2 separate regions of the Homo sapiens genome follow, and region 2 is linked to region 1. The links are contacts of gene promoters, found by promoter capture Hi-C in human tissues and cell types (Jung and others, 2019). All regions are on one chromosome and are shown on one strand. The core of a region is centred on a gene start or on the middle of the fragment in contact, and the rest is flanking DNA. Distances in the headings are between cores, read along the strand shown. Region 1 holds the start of IRF7 (interferon regulatory factor 7). Region 2 overlaps PSMD13 (proteasome 26S subunit, non-ATPase 13).

Region 1 (2,526 bases), core at 27-2,526:
GTCCTGGGCCTGCTGGCAGCCTCTCCCAGAACAGCTTCTAAAACCACAAATCTGACCCAGAGAATGTTCCCCTTTGCCCAAGCAGGACGAATGCCAACGCCCTTGGCAGCCGGCGTCGCTCACCTCGCCAGCACAGCTCCCGGCTGAGCGCGTACACCTTGTGCGGGTCGGCCGGGTCCCCCGAGTTATCCCGCAGCATCACGAAGCGACGCGTGCTGCGCAGTGCGCAGCGGAAGTTGGTTTTCCAGCCGGCGCGCTCCGCAGTCTCAGCCTCGGGGGGCGGGCCACCTCCCCTGCTGCTAGGCGGCCACCTGCCGCGGGCCACAGCCCAGGCCTGAAGAGGGGGACAGAACACGTGTGCCGGGCCCGCGGGGTCCTAGGCGGGCTCTCCCACCCGGGGCGGGGCGGGGCTGGGGTCCCCACCTTGAAGATGCGCGCGTCGGCCTCGCTCAGGTCCTTGCGCGCGAAGTGCTTCCAGGGCACGCGGAAACAGGTGCGGGCCTCGTCCAGCCACTGCAGCCCCTCATAGCAGCCGCTGCTGATCTCTCCAAGGAGCCACTCTCCGAACAGCACGCGTGGGGCTGCCCTGCGGGTGCCCGGCCGCGGAGAGTCAGGGCCGGCTGCAGGGCGCTCGGGGACTGGCATCTGGAGAGGGTGGGCCGGGCTCTTACCTCTCAGGAGCCAAGGCCATTGCTCCTTCTGCAGGGGCAGTTAGGTGGCGGTCAGGTGTTATAACAGGGGAGGTAAGGGCTCCTGTCGCAGCAGACGCCAGGCCGCGGCCACAGGTCGTGTGGCCAGGTGTCACAGGTGTCCACAGGTGTGGACTGAGGGCTTGTAGCCACCGACGCTGCCTCGGTATGGATCTCTTGGCAGAGGGGGCTACAGGTGTGACTGCAGGTGTGGCCGGCGCGCACACATGAAGTCACAGGTGTTGAACCAGTGTCCAGGCCTGGCGGGAAGGCGCAGGCCGGACCCTGCGGAGACGGGAAAGGCGACGTCAGGGGCGGGTCAGGCTCCCGGGAAAGCGAAACCTAAACAGTGGCGCTTCGCACCCTCCTCGATCCCACCCCGTCCGGTTCTCAGCTCCGCGGAACCCCGCCTCCGCCTCCGCCTCCCTCCCCGCCCGACCCTCATCTCTCAGGCTCCCCCAGCTCTTGGCTCTACCCCTCCGGGGTCACGGAGCCCCCACGGAGGCTCTCGCTCCCGGCCTGCACCGCGTGGGTCTGGGGTCCCCAGTACCTGGGTGCCAGAGCCGCCGGGACGGGAAGTTTCGTCTCGCGGGGAAGCGGAGGGCCGGCGCTTTTATGGTGGCCAGGCGGGAGTTTCCGGGAAGGGCGCGCGCCGCCTGTTCTTATTATTGGATGCGACCAGCGGAACCCCGCCCCGGCCAGCGCGGAGTAGGGAGGAGTGGAGGGCGTTGGGAGTGGCTGCAGTGAGCCGAGATGGAGCCACTCCACTACAGCCCAGGGGACAGAGCAAGACTCAGTCTCAAAAAAAAAAGGAAGTGGGTAATGGGAGGTGGACGTGCCTCGAAAAAGGGGCAGCTGCACCGTTTGCGTTTCTTTTTTTGAGATGGAGTTTCGCTTTTGTTACCCAGGCTGGAGTGCGGTGGCACAATCTTGGCCCACCACAACCTCCGCCTCCCGGGTTCAAGTGATTCTCCTACCTAAGCCTCCCGAGTAGCTGGGATTACAGGCATGAACCACCACGCCCGGCTAATTTTGTATTTTTAGTAGAGACGGGGTTTCTCTATGTTGGTCAGGCTGGTGTCGAACTCCCGACCTCAGGTGATCTGCCCACCTCGGCCTCCCAAAGTGCTGGGATTTAGGCGAGAGCCGCCGTGCGCAGCCCCCTTTGGGTTTTTTACATTGTTCAGTCAAGAATATCAGATACTCTCACAATTAAAACATTTGGAAAGGAATTAATGGTGTATTTCCATTAGGGAAAGTGCTGACAAGCCGCAAGGGATCCCTTGATGGTTCTGGGCATGGGCGCCCAGCCTGGGCTCTGGCTTTGGGAGCAGCGAGGGGAATGTGTCTCTCACCCCTAGGCCTCCTGGTCTGGCTCCTGCTCAGGCCACACGGCGCACCCACCCCCAGCGCGCCTCAGTCCAGGTCACTGGGCAGGGTGTTTACTGCTGCGCTCCAACCCAAGCATGTAGATTTCAGAAGGGGACTAGGACCCCCGGCAGGTGTTTGAGACCACCGGCTCCCAAGTGCGTCGCCTTGGGGGTTTGCATCGGCTCCTCAGCCTCCCCAGGCAATCTCTGTGTAGGGTCGGGAGCGGGAGGTCTGAGATGAGCCGGGTGCCTGAGATCTCCGGTGCAGGTCGGGGGAGGGGAGCCCCCCTCGGGCTGTGGTTAGAGCGGGAGAGGAACTTCCCAGACTAGCTGGCACAGAGCCTCGGGAAGGCGGCGGGCACTGCAGGTGGTTTACGGGAAGTGCTGCAGCCTTGGGGTGGGGACAGCGTGGCCAGACCCACCGCCTCATCTGCACACCTGGGCTCAAGCGCTAATGACGACAGGGG
Region 2 (3,953 bases), core at 1,346-3,845, 360 kb before region 1:
TCCTCAGAGGGGCTCCACTTGCACTGGCTCACTGAGCCGGCAGCAGCCCTTGAAAGAACCCCCCTGGGCAGTAGGGTGTATCCTTCCCAACAGCACCTTGACCAGGAGAGTCTTCTCGAAATGCCCGTACCCTGTGGCCCTGCCTAATGGTGTCTGTAGCATTAATACAAATCTTACCTTGTAAATTCCTTGCCTTGACAAAGTGTCCCAGTTAGGTGCGACTCTTTCCATTTCCTAAGAAGAATGAAGCTCAGATCACTTGTTGTTAATGAGCTTCAGCAGTCTGCAATGTGAAATGTTTGGATCTGCTTAGCTGGTTTTTGTTGGGTCTACTGTTATAGAACGAATTCCAGATCCCCAGTTAAGTAACTGATAAGCACAAACATGGAAGACATTTTTCTGTCTTTCTATACTTTACAGCCTGATTTAGCAGCTAATGAAGCCCAGCTTCTGAGGAAAATTCAGTTGTTGTGCCTCATGGAGGTAAGCGAACACCCAGGAGCCACTTTGTCTGTGGTTTCAGATTTTGGTCAGGTGGGGGCGCTGCACTCTCCAAGCCTGTGCTGAGCAGTGTGAGCTTTCAGTGGTGCTGCTTCTGCTGTGCGCCGCTCTCTTCACCACCTTCCTTTTCCTTTGCTACCACTTGCTCTTCTAAGTTTATATTTGGCTCTTAGCTCAGACGACACCCTCCCACCCCACTGCCACCACCCTGAGGCCTTCCCTGACCATCTGAACTGAGATGAAGTAGCTGCCCCTCTCCCCGTGATGCAGTTGTTGCCTCATTGCATGTCGCTTCTTGTGTACACGCACATCTGTCTTTCCCCACTAGAACTTAAGCTTCGTCAGGAAGTGGCCCTTAGATTTCTGGTTTGCCGTGGTCACCCCTGGTCAACCCTGGCAAATTGTGGCCTCAAGTACTTGTTCGGGGATTGAACAATGGCTACTGTCAGAAACTCCTGTAAGGCATTTTGCTGTTATCCTTCTTATCTAAGCATTAAAAGCTTGTTCTTAACAAGATATATGTCTAATATTAGGAAACTTTTTAGTATGTGGGGTACTAATAAGATCTCTATTTTCAGAGCCAATATTGACAAAACATCCTTATCAGTTCTCTATTTTTATTTGGAAAAATAGTTTAAAATAGTTAATAAAATTTTTTCCAGATGACTTTCACACGACCTGCCAATCACAGACAACTCACTTTTGAAGAAATTGCCAAAAGTGCTAAAATCACAGTGAATGAGGTACGGTCCCTAGGCTCAGGGTGTTAGAGCAGCAAAGCTGCCACATGGAGGAGTCAAGGCTCTTGTGTGAGCGCTGTGCTCCCTAGACAGTAAAAAATGACGGGAGGAGCGGCATCTGCTTCTCACAAGCCATCTGGGTCCATGGGGGTGTGTCAGGCTATCTTGTCTTACACACGCCTCCCTCTCTGCACAGGTGGAGCTTCTGGTGATGAAGGCCCTTTCGGTGGGGCTGGTGAAAGGCAGTATAGACGAGGTGGACAAACGAGTCCACATGACCTGGGTGCAGCCCCGAGTGTTGGATTTGCAACAGGTGATGTGTTTGAAACCCATTATTCACCTCTGTGGATTTTGAGGGGTTGTGTCTATACCGTCTTAGTTTCATTTGGATGGAAGCCATTTGGGAAGACAGCATTATTAGACAAGAGGTTTTGGAGAAGGAAATACTGCTGTTGGGTTTTTCTAAGAGCCTAATTTAATGCAAGCCTAGGGTTTGAACCCTGCATTTAAAAGCTTATGATGACAATGGCACTGGTTGTGCTGACGGTGCCTTTTAATCTTAAGATAGGAGCTCTGATCAGATACGTTCCTGGTTCTGTGATTTGAGCTCACGTCGCTCTTACATTTGCTGGAAATGCGATCCTGTGGATTTCCTCTGTCCTTGTCTGCTTTCTTTCATGCAAGTTTTTTCTAACGTTCCTGTGAAAAGAATTAACCCGGCAAGTCCCGTCCCACTCCCCCAGCTCAGAGGTCCTTTTTACTAGAGCTGCCCTAGAGAGTTAGCTGGAGATGTAGAGTCACCCCATCAGGTGCTGTGCCGGCCGCTCGGCCTGTGTCTCCTGCGTGTCTTAACGTCCCTTGTGTCCGGATTTCCATTTCAGATCAAGGGAATGAAGGACCGCCTGGAGTTCTGGTGCACGGATGTGAAGAGCATGGAGATGCTGGTGGAGCACCAGGCCCATGACATCCTCACCTAGGGCCCCCTGGTTCCCCGTCGTGTCTCCTTTGACTCACCTGAGAGAGGCGTTTGCAGCCAATGAAGCTGGCTGCTCAGACGGTCGACATTGAATTTGGGTGGGGGTTGGGATCCTGTCTGAAGTACAGACTGTTCTTGCTCTAAAAACAGGACTGTCCCTGATGGGAGCCAGGCCACAGGGAGGAGGCTTCTTTGTGGGTCTCTCCTGCAGAGGGTGGGGGTCTCAGGGTCTTAGGTGATACGGGAGAGAAAGAACGTGCCAGGCAGGAGGCCCCCTGAAGTCTGTGTACTCCGAGGTGGATCTCCATCCCCATCCACCTGTACGGACATCTTTTCCGTTGCGGTTTGAGAATGTTCCTATAATAAACCCCTCTGCTTTGTTCTTCTTGTGGCTCTGTTTTCTTGGGCTTAGCTTCCAGGCCAAGCCTGTGCCTGGAGGTTAAAAAGCATGAGTTGGAACCTTGGGAAGACACGGTGGGGGTAGCCTTGGCCCTTCTCCTCCCTGCACATACAGTAGACGGGCAGAATCCAGCACCAAGGACTAACGAAGACGCTGGTCCTATCTTTATTGTTAGTCAAGAGAGACCTAGGGGTATCCACTCCCTTCTCCAGCCCTCTCAGGTACCTGCCCCGACACAGGCATCCATCCACATCCTTGTCACCACTCATCATTCAAATAGCCACCAGCATCTGTGACCTGGTGTGCCCCAGTGCGGACATGAGCCATCCCTGGGACTGGGCATGTAAAGGAAACCACCTTGAGGTTCCCCGTCTGGGAGTGGAGGTGCACGTACACAAAGAATCACAGAGTGAACATTAGGTGGAAGGACAGTTTAATGTGATCTTTCAGTCCTGGGCCTGCAGTGACAGCATGGAGCTCTTGCAGCTCTCCAGGTCGGGTGAGACCCAGCCTCCAGGAACCAGGAAGCTGATGAATGTGAGAGCCCCACGGCCTGCTCCTGTTGGAGGAAAGCACCCACAAGTCTGCTAGGCTGGCAAAGAACAGTTGTCCGGCATCTTCTCCAGCCTTTTCCTCTTTGGTTGCTGGTGTCTGAGCTCCTGGTTTTTTCCACCTCGTCCAGGCCTCGCCTGACCTCATGGCCCCAGACCCCTCTCGGTCTTTCCACCCACCCTCTCCAGACCTCGTTTGGCCCTGGTCCAGATGGCCTGACACCCCAGCTGTTCCTCGTCAGTCACAATTGCTGGGATCTATTGACCACTAGCCTTTATACCCACCTCACTGTCAAGTTCCCAAGGCCCTGTGGTGCACCCTTCAACCTTCCGCAGCCCCTCTCAGCTGCTCAGGCCAAATGTCTTAGTGTGAGCCTCCATTTCCCTCAGACACTCATGTGTACATCGAGCCCGCTGACTCCCCACCCTCCCTAAGTCCAGCCTCAAACCTGTCCTCCATAACCGCTCCTCCACACAGCAGCCCAGACAGTCTTCCAGAACAATCAGGTCTTGTTGCTGCCGCTGCTCAGCATCCTCCAACAGGCTTCACTCACCCCCAAGGCCTGAGTGCTCTGACCACTGCCTGCCTTGCTGGTCCTGCTCCTACCCTCATCTGCTCTCCCTGCACCCCACCAAGGCTCCTGCCTCATCCCAGACATGAGCTGATCACAGCCCAGAGAGACACAATTCTGCATGCTGAAATCCCGAAAAATCAAAATTCTGAAAATATATTTCTGGAAAAAATAATTTTAAAATTATTTAAAAGATATTTATTTACTTTTTTT

Evidence for each region. The method cuts DNA at HindIII sites, captures the fragments that hold promoters and counts their contacts. A contact is called where the count stands out against the background at its distance.
Region 2: a fragment that was not itself captured here is called in contact with the fragment with the promoter of IRF7 in region 1 in 1 of the 25 tissues and cell types used here (lymphoblastoid cells).

The regions. Positions count from the first base shown.
Region 1 is chr11:614,674-617,199 of GRCh38, forward strand. It overlaps IRF7 (interferon regulatory factor 7), which reads right to left and starts at 1,277. Exons shown (of 11, transcript NM_001572.5): 1 at 1,240-1,277; 2 at 672-974; 3 at 424-586; 4 at 124-334. The coding sequence starts at 691. It overlaps CDHR5 (cadherin related family member 5), which reads right to left. Exons shown (of 15, transcript NM_021924.5): 15 at 1,910-2,526. RefSeq lists an enhancer at 139-733. The HindIII fragment of the contact is 18,510 bases long and covers 1-2,526 here.
Region 2 is chr11:250,383-254,335 of GRCh38, forward strand. PSMD13 (proteasome 26S subunit, non-ATPase 13) reads left to right here. Exons shown (of 13, transcript NM_002817.4): 10 at 421-483; 11 at 1,164-1,244; 12 at 1,438-1,554; 13 at 2,123-2,602. The coding sequence ends at 2,218. It also overlaps the pseudogene COX8BP. Among named protein-coding and RNA genes, the nearest start is that of PSMD13, 15 kb to the left of the region's middle. The HindIII fragment of the contact is 4,358 bases long and covers 417-3,953 here.